4 separate regions of the Homo sapiens genome follow, and regions 2, 3 and 4 are each linked to region 1. The links are contacts of gene promoters, found by promoter capture Hi-C in blood cells and fetal thymus (Javierre and others, 2016). All regions are on one chromosome and are shown on one strand. The core of a region is centred on a gene start or on the middle of the fragment in contact, and the rest is flanking DNA. Distances in the headings are between cores, read along the strand shown. Region 1 holds the start of LNPK (lunapark, ER junction formation factor). Region 2 has its middle 190 kb from the start of ATP5MC3. Region 3 holds the start of LINC01116 (long intergenic non-protein coding RNA 1116). Region 4 has its middle 210 kb from the start of ATP5MC3.

Region 1 (3,411 bases), core at 620-3,119:
GACACATAGTAGTAACTGCTTAATTGTAGCCATTATTATTACCAGAAAACACATGTATTTATATGAAACACATTTCTAACTTCTTATAAAGAAAGCACCTATTTCATAATTCTAAAATTGGAAAATTATATTAGTTTGTATTTTTACAAAAATAGATTGCTCTCATTTTCTCTAGTATAAGAAATAGAGCAAAAAATTCTGTAGACTCTGCCATTAAATAACCTTGTAGGTCTTTGAAGGAAACAGCAAAGGAAGTTCTATGTTTATCAAATTCCAAAGTTAAGTATAAGCTATTTAATCACCATCAACAGTACCTCCATAACATATTATACTATACAATTGAAGAGTAAAGGTGATTTATTCTAGAATTCTAACTTTCAAATGTCCTAACTGAAAAGACAATTCTGAAATAGCCCAAGCCACATTTATTGCTCCTCAAAAAGAATTTTAATGAAAAGTACACCTCTATTATATATTAAGCACTCTTAATATATAATGATTAGTGCTTGCTTTCATGGTAAGTCAATTTTCATCTGAACTAAATACCACCAAAAAATTACTATTTGATTATAAATGTTTCTATGTGAAGTCATATATTTTTAATAGCCATATAACTTCTCCTTTTCTTGTATTTTCTTGTTTATATAACATATAAACACTATATAAGTTTACTAACATCATTACTGAGCTGATCTCAATAGATAACAGACAACCTTAAAATTCTAATTTAAACGCACCACTCCTGTTTAAGAAAATGTGTTAAAAGTCAACTTGGTCTTCTGGGGGCTGCTGAGGAAAAGAAATGAGCATTCCCTGCCAGTTTGAACATATTCCTGAAACCAAGCTTACTCACACCCACCAAACCGCTGTTGAATAGAGTCAATTTTGTCAATGCTGACACCCAGGCCATAAAGAAAGGAGGAAACAGTAGACACCGAGCAACACACACCGGAGGCCAACTGGGAAAAGCAGAACACGGAAAACTCAGTGATTCACGGGTCTTGCTTAGTACTGTGAAAGCACCATCAGCAAAGCTGAGTTGACCAATTTCAACTCTTTCTCAATCCGTAAACTATGAACTGACGGAATTTAGATTTGTTTTTCTCCTCCTACCACGCCTCTGATACAATGCACCTTCGCCCTTCCCCTCCACCCCACAGCCCACCATCCCTGAAATAAGGACAATGGTTGGAGAGTCTCTTCTCTAAGTAGCACGTACTCCACGCCCACACGCTAGAGCCCGGCAGCATGACACTGACAGTTTTCAGTCCCTTCTGGTCTTTCTAACTCTTGGAGCCTCCGCACAACTCAGAAAGAGAAGCGGAGAGAACGCTCAAAGCGGACAGCTGAGCGTAGGAAATGCTAGTTTGGGACCTTCTGACCTCTTTGCCCCACCTGTGTCGAGATAAGCTCGACACAAGTGGGCCAAAGAGCTGGGGCTCAAGCCAGTCACCACCCGGAATCTCCTAGAACCGAGCTGGAGAAACTACCAGCCCTAGAGGGGAAACAAGGGTTTCAAGACTCCAGCGCCACCACTGCCAGTGTGCTGGGAAATCCAGGGAACAAGGCGGCGAGCCTGGGTCTGCGCGGACCACCGCGCAGCCTGACTAGCAGCCGCCGCAGAGCTCTAGGCCACTTGGCAGGAGGCGGGGGCACCAAGGAGAGGCAAGCGGGGAACCCGCAGCTTATTTCCCAGGGGCACAGCTCAGCATGCCTCCCCGCTGCAGAGCCCTCCCAACTGCCCTCGCCTTGAGCGTTCTACCTGCAAGAAGCGGGCGCAGCCCGGCCCGGGCGTCCACCCCCGCCAGTCTCGGCCGCCACCGCCCAGCCTGCCTCCAGAGCAGGCAGCAGCCGCCACTGACAGAGAGACAAGCCGGGCCAACTCCTTCCCATGAAACCCCGCGCTCCAGCCGCTCGCCAATTGGCGCCGCGGTCGGCGCGCGCCGCTCCCCCGTCACGTGACCGTACCCTGGGCGGGTAGTTGTTGGGGCGGGTCGGCCGGGAGGTTAGGATCTTGTGTTTGTGGCCTCCGCAGCCAGCTTAGGCTGCTCGGTGTCGTGTCGCAGTTATGTACTGCCATTTATTATGACTCTTAGAATATAGTTATTTCTTACTCTTCCGCTGCCTCCTTTGCTTTTAAAGCCTGTTCTGCCAAGTCTCGCTGGAGAAGGAAACCCCTGAAACTGGTCCTGGTGGTCTCAGACCGCCGCGCGAGCGAAGAGTGGGGAGGACAAAGGTTGGGGAGTTGAGAAGGATGGAGATGGGTGCATCTGGAAGGGAGTCCGTCCTGAGGAGTCCCCCATCAGCTGTCAGCCAGCCAGCAGCAAAGCAAATTAAGACTACACAGCTCCGAAGAAGCCAGTTCCCAACCAAGCCAGTGGAGAAAAGTCAGCCCGGTCCCCAGGAGTGCTTGAGGCTCTGTCACTCTTGGACGTCAAAAAGGGTCATTTGATGACTGGACGCTTACCTCACCGGTGTGAGGTAAGCTTCAAACGCCGTATCATGTTGCTTTAAAACCTGCGGGTAACAGCATAAGCTGAGTTTTCTATCTTAGAACTCTTAACCCCAAGAACACTCTTCACAGGCCCTGATAGGTGGACCCACAAAAAAACCACTCAGGCTATATTTGACTCGGATTTGAAACGCTGCCGAAACGGTATTAAGTGTCCTCCTCAACTGGAAAAGACAAATAACAAATGATGCCTGAATGAGAAAAAGACTAGACGTGCACACAGTAATGTGTGAGCAGGGAAACTTCAGCGAAGGTTTTTATCATGCTTTACCCCTTTTACATGCTTTACCCCATGTGCAAACATTTTTCATGGGTTTTTTTCTATTTTTTATTTATTTTTATTCTATTTTTTTATTTATACACAAAAAAGTTTCAATGATTTTTTAAAGAGTAATAGTTTTAATATGTTACATTTAAACTTTGACGATGCAAACAGGTTGTCAAGAGAAGCAACTGAGCATTGTTTGGTTGGTAAGAAAATTTATTATACTAGAAGCTACCGCATAATTCACTGTGCAATTTGCTTGCCCTAATTGCCTAAATATTTAGTTACAGTTCTGTACACTTGCAAGGATGAGGGGAAGGGAACTGAAGTTTAGCGTGTCACTGTGGATCAGGCACTTTCCAAATGTAGAAGAAAATGAACAGAAACATTTCACCTGTTTTGATGTGGAAATTTAACCGTTTTGTTTTTCAACCTTTGCTGTTGCAAAGTATTAAAGTCCTGTGCAGTTTTGCAAATATATCTCACCGCAGAAAGATCTCCTTTCCTAAGAAGACTGGGAAGAACGGCTTTCCACTTGCCAGTAATGTGTCCTCTGGTTTCAATTGAGCCATCAGTGTCTGTACTCCAGCCTGGGCTACCAAGCGATACCCCACCTCTGAAAAAAGGGTAGCAA
Region 2 (3,411 bases), core at 288-2,787, 630 kb before region 1:
GCAATGCTGCATGTATCCCTATTGTGTGTTGTCTACTGAAAATGAATGGCCCTAAAATTACAGGAGGTCACATACTTTTTTTTTTTGTCATTTGTGCTGCCTTCTTATTTGGTGATGTCATATACAAACACAAAGTACAGTAAATACACACACACATTTGCTTTCATAAACTGATTAATCAATGTGCAAAAATTGCTAAAGGCATCGCTTTCTGCTCTACTGGAACCCCAAGGAGCCCAGCAGACGCGGATCCAGTTCTGTTCGCTAGGATGTCGGGCTTCGAATTCACTGTCTGAGTCTCACCAATAGGGGTCTCCAGTGTACCACAGAACTATTTACACCACTCCATTATGATTATTTACAGTATGCTGTACATGAAGACAGAAGCAAAGGGGCAGAACAGATTTATATGGGCTGGGGCTGATACTGGATTTATTCAAGGAGTGAAAGGGTGACGTCACAAGTTACAAGTGATGAGGAGAAGCAAAGACACATCTAGGTTTGGTGTGAGAACACCCTTGACCTAATGGTGTGGACATGATCTGCCTGATCTGACTGTGCCCCAAAGAGAAAAAAGAATATCCAGGCAGCTACAGTGGTATTTCCTGATATTTAAATATGTGTCTTTGTTTGGATGAAACAGCTAGAGGAATGAATGATTTTTTTCTGTCCTCATTGGAATCTTTTGGGAATGGGCTGAAACTCTAAATATCAACCATGAAGCTGCTTCATGGTAGTTTTTATGAAGTTATTTATTTTTTGTGAGACTGTAGGTATTGAAACTGTCTCCCCCTGCCATCTCAGATAAAGAAGGTAAGAGCAATTACCCTCCAAAAAGAGAAATTACAATTGATCATAATTGAATATAAAGTTTAGGTCACATTTAGAAATACCAATACTGATTCACAATATATAAAGCATGTCATAACATTCTTTGTTTTTATGCATCATGGAATTCCTTTATGCCATCCATTCTAGAAAAAAATTACATTTTAAAAGCCTTGACTAACAGGACATTTCTGGAGTTTTAGGTAGATCTATTTGTGTAGAATAGGCAACAGATATTCAAAATGCCTTTCTCATCATTCATTTATTTATTCAACAAACATTTATTTAGGCCATGCTTCGTGAAGTCACTCAGTGCCTAAAGGAAAATAGCTCTCTTCAGAGAGTGCAGTCTAGTAAATGATAAATAAAAAAGAAATTCTAATAGAAAACAGATTGGGCTAAGAGTTAGCACTGAGGCAAAAACAAGGTACTGTGAAAGGAAGCCAATTAAACAACTAATTCTAAGAGAGGAGGTTGAATGTGGTCAGAAAAATGAGTTGGCTTTTGAGATGCGTTGTGAAGTTTAGGATTGTGATGAGCTATGCTGGAGAGAAGAGCATTCCATGTGTGAAGAGTTGGAGGCTGTTCATGGAATGAGAAGTTATGTACAGAAACTGTGGAAGCTTTGTAAGATGTGTTGGCTTGTTCTGCCTGAGAAAGGAGGATAGGGGAAGCTACAGAGGATGGAGACTGCGTTGGTGAAGGTGAGATAAATTTAGAGGTCAGGGTTGTGAGAGGATAGAAAGAAACCCAGGCAAATATAGAATATGTATTAATTTTTAGAAATCAAAGTCAGGAAGCTTAGGAGGATTGTCAAGATGACCCCACTGGGAGAGAGCCCATGGCTGTGTAAAGGCTTATTCAGTAAACTCCACATGACCAGCACCATTATGGTTGATTTTATTTTTCCGCATTTAGGTGTAGTTAATTTGCTCTTCTCAGGTTTAGAAACAGGACACTGATGGTAATCCATCTATGTCACCCTAACTAGCAGGATGACTTGGAGTTAGTCCCTTCTGTCTTCCCCAGATTAGTTTCTTATCCATAAGATGAGAGATTGTATTAAGCTTATAGCTGAGGTCTCCACCAGCTCTTAAGGATCTTGTGGATCAAAGTGAGGCTGAAGTCACATTTAGGCATATCCCATGGGACAAAGGAGTTCAGAAGAGGTGCATATTTTAAAAGGAAATACCACGATGGACACAAGAAATTCTATTTCATGGTTTATGTGAGACAGATAAAAGCTACCGAGCAACAAATTTGACTAAATGAATACCAAAAGGGCTGAAGGTCAGAAAACAATACTTGCAAGACATGAAAACAAGACTAAAGTATCAGAGATGAATACTGTGGAAGATTCTAAACTCCCAGGGAATAGTTGAGTAAATACAACGAAACTGCACGTGAGCAAAACTCTGATTTCATATACAACTTCCTATCAGCGAGGCTTTTGATTCAGTCAAAATTAAGTTGCTAACACAGGGAAACAAATGAGGGTAGAGTGATTAATTCTGACTTAAGGAATCACAGAAGGTTTCCAGGAAGGGATAACAGTTGATTCCTACCACTAATAATGAATTGTGATTTTATAGGTGGAGAGTGGAGGGAAGTGCACTTTGAGTTAAAGGGCCAGCATGATCCAAAGATAATCAGAACCATGGAGACCCCTTGGTACTGGCAAGTTACATTGAGAAGCAGAGGAAAGCTGCTTGGGTGGATAGATAACAAAGGAGAAGATTTTCCTAACTCAGTATTGGCTAGGCAAATAGATGCCAGCTATCCATCTGTAACATCTATGATATTCTTGGGCACTTAGATGATGAAAGACACCAGGACAGTGGGAGGAAATGACAAGCAGAATTTGAAATCTAATAACCTTTCAAGTTGTAAAAATGGCTAGTAAGAATTGGAACAATCTTTAATAGGGATATAATGTGTGTGAAGTGCATGGGAAAAGAAATCTCAAATGAAATTTAGAAAATGATTCACTATGCACATGAAACAGGAAATTATCTGACGTTATAAAGTTGAACACGAATCAATAATAAAATTATAACACTGTTCCAAGGGCCATATTCTGTGGCCCCAGAACCTACGGGTGAGAGAGGTTTGAAAGAAGACTCTTCAGCTACACCAGTCCCCAAATTCTTTAGCTTCAGATACAATATAGACACATCACTTGCCTATTTCCACTCTTTGGTAAACATTGTCATGGAAAAATACATACATAAAGCTAAGTTAGAAGTTTGTAATTTAATTTGTTTATGACAACATTGATTGTAAATACCACAGATGCTTGTAAAAAATTCAGTATAGGGCTTAGTTTGAGTTTGGGAGTGGGAAATGATGTTAAAAGAAAAAAAGAAAAAAGTACTATGTCTTTGATTTATCTATCATTTTATGCAAAGTAGAAAGATACAAATAAATGAAAGTATCAAAAATGATTAAAGGCACAGAAAATGGGTGCTCTGAAAGAATATACTCATTGTGATTACGTAACTCAGAAAATAACTGAAGGGTGTTTCAATAACACTGTATGGGAAAGTTTTTCAACAAAACTAATGGTCAATTTTTAAAATTCGA
Region 3 (3,411 bases), core at 230-2,729, 630 kb after region 1:
ATGTTTAAAAAATCTTCTGAACATCAAAACTAAGAGAAGGCATCAGTCTACAGTGCAGTCTTAGAAAACAACTGATGGATTGCTTAAAATTGGAAAGACAGCCTAGAAGTGCCACAATATCAAGGCATAGGACTTCCTAGTAGTTTTACCCAGCTCAGAAGGCAAAGTCTAGATGGATTTCCTGCCAATCCCCAAAACTACCTAGGGCTGTGGATGCAGCAGTTTGAAACATGTGTCAATGCTAAATACTTGTCCAACTGGCTTGAAATAAAGGGAGGGCTGGGGGTGGGGATGGTTGAAGGGGGCAGAGAAATGGCATATGCTTTTCTCAAGGCAGGGCCTCTGTCCCCCAGCACTCGAAGAATTACTGAACAAATGTGTTAAGTGGGAAGGAAATGGATGGGTAAAAGCTAACTTCATCTCAGCACAAAAGAAGTTGTCCTTCCATGCTTACATTTTCAAAATGCAAAAATCCAAAAAGCATCGATATTGGAAAATTCTTGGGAAACTGAAAAGCTTAACCATATTCCATAATTTTATTAATTTAAGACCTTCCAAGCAGGGAGGTCAAACTTAACTCTGCTTCCAGCTTACAAAGCACGTCAACTTATTTTGTATGTATAGCTATAAACTGTTTGCAAGTTTCCTCAGTCAGGTACTCGGGATGAATTATGAATGGAATTAGCCAGCCTGACTTGGAATTTCCTCACTTTTACTGGTCTTTAAACAAGATTTTTATACATTCATATGTAATCGATGGAACCAACACATGAAATGGCCCTTCACATAAAACACTCTCTTTTAAAGTGATTTTGCAGTTAAGGAAACCTAAATATGAACTTCTGATGTGGAAAAGGTAGTTTTTATATGCTATTTAGAAACTGATCTGAAAAACTGATGAGCTGACCACAAGATTTCTGTCAGAAACTGAAATTAGGATTATATTTTAAAATACAATTGTAAATGCTTGCTTTCTTTTATAAAACCAATCTGCTTCTCATATTCCTAGCCTTAGTCACACTGAAAATACATAAATTTGGTATTTGGTTATTGAGTTTTGAAGTTGCAAGGCAGGATAATTTAGATATTCATAAATACAGAGCATAAGAAAATCCTTCCTGAGTGCAAAACTATCTTTAAAATAATCATCCAAAGGAGTGAATGCCACACCTCCTGATTTAATTTTGGCTATTAGCTATTCATTCCTTAATATACATTCTTCCACATAAAACTTGCACTGTCTTAAAACTTGCCTACAAACTGGCATGTCCAAATTGTGTGCATAAAAAATAAGATGAAGATCGATGCCAAGTTTTCAAGAAAGAAATGAATTTGGATTGTTTATTACACCAACAAGACACATGTTCAAATTTATCCCCTGTATATAAAAAGATTAGTATAAAATATTTCTCAATTGTTTATGCAGAAAGTAGTAGGGAACAAATTCCAATAATTTTTATCACATAGCTGATATAGCTAAATATTTGGAACCTTTAAAAGAAAAGTGCTAATTAAAATACATATAAATTTTTCAAAGTTTAAAAAGCAGTTGGAAAAATACTTCTACCACTTAGAACACAATTACCTGCACAGCTTAATAGTCTTATGGATTTCAGTAGTAAAATATGTTTAGAAACATCTTGTCTTTTCCATTCCCTCAAACACACAGTGGGCTGAGAATATAACTCTTCATAATATATTAAAAAGTATCCACCATCTTGAGAAAACTATATATTATGGTAATAATTTTTACATCTGATTATGCCATTTTTAGACTATGGAATATAGTTTCTGAATTCTTTTGGGGGGAGGGAAATGGTGTGGAAAAACTACTTTTAAAACGTGCTTCTATCTTCATTTAAAATGTATAAATTCTCAAGTTTCTTAACAAAAAACTTTGATCCCACTATTTTATATAGACTGCATTTATAGGCTTGGAAATCCTGTTCTCTCTATTAAACTCCTTAGACAGGATTATATTAATCTTACTTAAAAGAAAAAACTACTTACAGCAAACATGGCACTCAAAAGAATTAAAAATAATACTTGCAATATTTTAATATTTATGAAAATCTGTTTTTTGAAAGACAGATGAACTTAGAAATGTGAACACACAAAAAAATACAAGTATAAAGTTTCCTTTCGAAACTTTTCCTTTCAAAGAAATATTTATCCCACATTTCTACATGCAAAACTTTTAGTGTAAACTATTGAGAAAATCCTAAATAGTAAAACATTTGTTTCTGTAAGTCCATAAGCACTTGCTGTACATACTCAGAGGCAGCCCTGGCCCACTGTATCCGCAAATGCATCTGCAGGGGGAATGGTTCCAAGCCAGTCACTGAGTGTCATCTGTCCCTTCTCCAGGGGCAGGGACATTGAGTCACAATGAAATTTTATTATTTATATACATTATTTTAAATTCTGTTTTTCTTAGAGCTCAAAGCTTTGACAGTAAATGTCAAACCACACTGAAGTTGACTTGTTAGCTTTTGTAGCTAGCCTTACTGCTGTCGGCTATTTCAAATTGCAAATGACAATAAACAGGTGGTTTTTTCTTTTAATCACTAAAGAACATCCCTTTTCATATAGCTAATATAACAAAAAAGTCTAAAACATGGGCATATAATTCCCACTGTAAATTAATTATAATTATTTCAGGCTTAAGTATTAATAGTAAGTGAATTCTTTTCAAGAGATCCTTGGCGGTTCCATTTGCCCTTGAACATTAACCCTGCCACCTCAAAACTCAATGCCTTTGCACTTAGTCTAGAAAATTAAAAATACAACTCGTCCTCATCCTAGTAACCTGCGCAAGTCTCTACAAGAGACTGGAGGATCTACGTGGTAACTAACTTTAACTTACCTCTTCTAGGCTTTATTAACGAGTTTATCAAAAAATATTAACTTTCAGGCAAGATGTGGCTAATTCTTAAATGCAGCTTAAAACTTTCGACATCCCCTTGTAAAAATGATGCCACGAAATGTGCCACTGTCCATTTATTTCCCATTTCACTTAACGCATTAATATTGACCCTTCGGACAGCAGCGCTGGCATCATTTTGGAGCTGCAAAGCAAGACGTGGCGCGTTGATGAGCTAAAAAGGACCCGTCTTTCTCTGGGCCCCTTACCAACATCTCTCTCCCTAGAAGACAAATACTTTTCAGATCTCGCACCCCTCTTTACAAACCTGAGCGGGGCTTTCGGGGTAAGGGGAGGCAAGACTTTGGTGGGAGCTGCTCGTCTTCAGCAAAGCGAGGGCCGGCTGCAAAGGCGCAGGCTGGCAGTTCGGGTCATTTCCTGCCGATTCCCCATTCCCCTCGGAGCAGCTTGGAGAGGAAGTCGGACTTCTTTTCCAGGCGGAGCCTCCACGATGGGCGTGGGCGCCTCGTGCGTGGGCCGGGGGCCTC
Region 4 (3,411 bases), core at 549-3,048, 620 kb before region 1:
CACGAGATCTGATGGTTTCATAAGCATCTGGCATTTCCCCTGCTGGCACTCATTCTGTCTCCTGCCCTCCCTGTGAAGAGGCGCCTTCCACCATGATTGCAACTTTCCTGAGGCCTCACCAGCAATGCAGAACTGTGAGTCAATTAAACCTCTTTCCTTTATAAATTATTGTCTCAGGTATTTCTTCATAGTAGTGTGAGAATGGACTAGTACAGTAAATGGGTACTGAGGTAGTGGGGCGCTGCTGTAAAGATAACTGAAAATGTGAAGTGACTTTGGAACTGAGTAACAGGCAGAGGTTGGAACAGTTTGGAGGGCTCACAAGAAGACAGGAAGATGTGGGAAAGTTTGGGACTTTCTAGACAGTTGTTGAAAGACTTTGACCAAAATGCTGATAGTGATATGTACAATGAAGACCAGGCTGAGGTGGTCTCAGATGGAGATGAGAAACTTGTTGGGAACTGGAGCAAAGGTCGTTCTTGCTATGCTTTAACGAAGAGACTGGTGGCATTTGTCCCCTGCCCTAGAGATCTGTGGAACTTTGAACTTGAGAGAGATGATTTGGGTGTCTGGCAGAAGAAATTTCTAAGTGGCATAGTGTTCAAGAGGAAGCAGAGCATAAAAGTTTGGAATATTTGCAGCCTGATGATGTGATAGAAGAGAAAAACCCATTTTCTAGGGAGAAATTCAAGCCTGCTGCAGAAATTTGCATAAGTAATGAGGAGCTGAATGTTAATCACCAAGACAATGGGGAAAATGTTTCCAGGGCATGTCAGAGACCTTTGTGGCAGCCCCTCCCATCAGAGACCCAGAGGCCTAGGAGGGAAAAATGGTTTCATGGGCCTGGCCCCGGGCCACCCCCATCCCTGATCCAACTTGCAGCCTTGGTACATGGTGCCCAACATGCCAGCTGATTCAGCTCTAGCCTTGGCTAAAAAGGGCCAAGGTACAGGTTCAGAGGGTGCAAGTCCAAGCCTAGGGGTTTCCCCATGGTGTTGACCCTGTGGGTGCACAGAAGTCAAGAACTGAGCTTTGGGAACCTCTGCCTAGATTTCAGAGGATGTATGGAAATACCTGGATGTCCAGGCAGAAGTCTGCTGCAGGGATGGAGCCCTCATGGAGAACCTCTGCTAGGGCAGTGCAGAAGGGAAATATGGGGTTGGACCCCCACACCGAGTCCCTTCTGGGGCACTGCCTAGTGGAGCTGTGAGAAGAGGGCCACCATCCTCTAGACTCCAGAATGGCAGATCCGCTGACAGCTTGCAACATGAACCTGGAAAAGCCACAGACACTCAATGCCAGTTGTGAAAACAGCAGGGAGGAGGACTGTACCCTGCAAAGCCACAGGGGTGGAGCTGCCCAAGGCCATGGGAGCCCACCTCTTGCATCAGTGTGACTTAGATGTGAGACATGGAGTCAAGGGAGATCATTTTGGAACTTTAAGGTTTAATAATGGCCCTACTGGATTTCAAACTTGCATGGGGCCTGTAGTTTGTTTTGGCTGGTTTCTCTCATTTGGAATGGATGTATTTCCCCAATGCTTGTAACTCTGTTGTATCTGGGAAGTAACAAACTTGCTTTTGATTTTACAGGTTTGTAGGTGGAAGGGACTTTCCAGTCTCAGATGAGACTTTGGACTTGGACTTTTGGGTTTATGCTGGAATAAGACTTTGGGGGACTGTTGGAAGGGCATGACTGTGTTTTAAAATATGAGGACATGAGATTTGGTAGGGTCCTGGGGTGGAATGATATGTTTTGGCTCTGTGTCCCCACTCAAATCTCACCTTGAATTGTAATCCTCATTATCCCCGCGGTTCAAGGGCAGCACCAGGTGGAGGTAATTGAATCATGGGGGCAGTTTCCCCCATGCTATTGTCATGATAATGAGTGAGTCTCACGAGATCTGATGGTTTTATAAGTGTCTGGCATTTCCCCTGCTGGCACTCATTTTGTCTCCGGCTGCCATGTGAAGAGGTACTTTCTGCCATGATTGTAAATTTCCTGAGGCCTCCCCAGCAATGCAGATCTGTGAGTCAATTAAACTTCTTTTCTTTATAAATTACTAGGACAGGTGCAGTGGCTCATGCCTGTAATCCTAGCACTTTGGGAGGCGAGGTGGGTGGATCACCTGAGGTCAGGAGTTCAAGACCAACCTGGCCAACATGGTGAAATCCCATCTCTACGAAAAACATAAAAAATTAGCCGGGCATGGTGGCAGGTGCCTGTAATCCCAGCTACTCGGGAGGCTGAGGCAGGAGAATCACTGAAATTTGAGGCGGAGTTTACAGTGAGCCAAGATCGTGCCACTGCACTCCAGCCTGGGCAACAAGAGTGAAACTCCATTTCAAAAAAAAAAAAAAAAAACAACCCAGTCTCAGATATTTCTTCATAGCAGCATGAGAACAGACTAATACACCAAGTTAGGATCCCATAGAGCACAGATGTATCCGAAGTCCTCAATATGATGTAAGCATAAAAGTGCTACCTGTGCTACTATAATCCAATTACCTGGTACAGTGTGCAGAGTGTAATCAGAGTGCCTGGCAAGAAGGAAAGGCCTTTATTGGACTTGCCTTGCTATCTTAACCCCATTTCAATGGTAGAAATGTCTCACTGTTGCGGGAAGTCAGGGACCCCAAACGGAGGGACCAGCGGAAGTTGTGGCAGAAGAATGTGGATTGTGAAGATTTCATGGACATTTATTAGTTCCCCAAATTAATACTTTTATGATTTCTTATGCCTGTCTTTAACTGCAATCTCTAAACACAAATTGTGAAGATTTCATGGACACTTATCACTTCCCCAATCAATACCCTTGTGATTTCCTATGTCTGTCTTTACTTTAATCTCTTAATACTGTCATCTCATAAGCGGAGGAAGATGTATGTCACCTAAGGACCCTGTGTTGATTGCGTTAACTGCACAAATTGTAAAGCATGTGTGTTTGAACAATATGAAATCTGGGCATCTTGAAAAAAGAACAGGATAACAGCAATGTTCAGGGAACAAGAGAGATAACTTTAAACTCTGACCGCTGGTGAGCCGGGTGGAACAGAGCCATATTTCTCTTCTTTCAAAAGCAAATGGGAGAAATATCGCTGAATTCTTTTTCTTAGCAAGGAACATCCCTGAGAAAGAGAATGCGCCCCTGAGGGTGGGCCTCTAAAATGGCCCCCTTGGGTGTGGCCATCTCCTGTGGTCGAGACTGTAGGGATGAAATAAGCCCCAGTCTCCCATAGTGCTCCCAGGCTTATTAGGACGAGGAAATTCCCACCTAATAAATTTTGGTCAGACCGGTTGCTCTCAAACCCTGTCTCCTGATAAGATGTTATCAATGACAGTGGTGCCCGAAACTTCATTAGCAATTTTAATTTCGCTCTGGTCCTGTGGTCCTGTGATCTTGCCCTGCCT

The links. The method cuts DNA at HindIII sites, captures the fragments that hold promoters and counts their contacts. A CHiCAGO score of 5 or more calls a contact.
Region 2: a fragment that was not itself captured here is called in contact with the fragment with the promoter of LNPK in region 1 in 3 of 17 cell types (M1 macrophages, megakaryocytes and monocytes); the score reaches 9.3 in M1 macrophages.
Region 3: a fragment that was not itself captured here is called in contact with the fragment with the promoter of LNPK in region 1 in 1 of 17 cell types (fetal thymus); the score reaches 5.1 in fetal thymus.
Region 4: a fragment that was not itself captured here is called in contact with the fragment with the promoter of LNPK in region 1 in 1 of 17 cell types (monocytes); the score reaches 5.4 in monocytes.

Annotation. Positions count from the first base shown.
Region 1 is chr2:176,000,398-176,003,808 of GRCh38, forward strand. LNPK (lunapark, ER junction formation factor) reads right to left here and starts at 1,870. Exons shown (of 13, transcript NM_030650.3): 1 at 1,763-1,870. RefSeq lists an enhancer at 2,064-2,283. The HindIII fragment of the contact is 1,642 bases long and covers 843-2,484 here.
Region 2 is chr2:175,366,634-175,370,044 of GRCh38, forward strand. No RefSeq gene overlaps it. Among named protein-coding and RNA genes, the nearest start is that of ATP5MC3, 190 kb to the left of the region's middle. The HindIII fragment of the contact is 177 bases long and covers 1,450-1,626 here.
Region 3 is chr2:176,634,271-176,637,681 of GRCh38, forward strand. LINC01116 (long intergenic non-protein coding RNA 1116) reads right to left here and starts at 3,339. Exons shown (of 5, transcript NR_188023.1): 1 at 3,192-3,339. The HindIII fragment of the contact is 1,930 bases long and covers 515-2,444 here.
Region 4 is chr2:175,385,027-175,388,437 of GRCh38, forward strand. No RefSeq gene overlaps it. Among named protein-coding and RNA genes, the nearest start is that of ATP5MC3, 210 kb to the left of the region's middle. The HindIII fragment of the contact is 4,362 bases long and covers 1-3,411 here.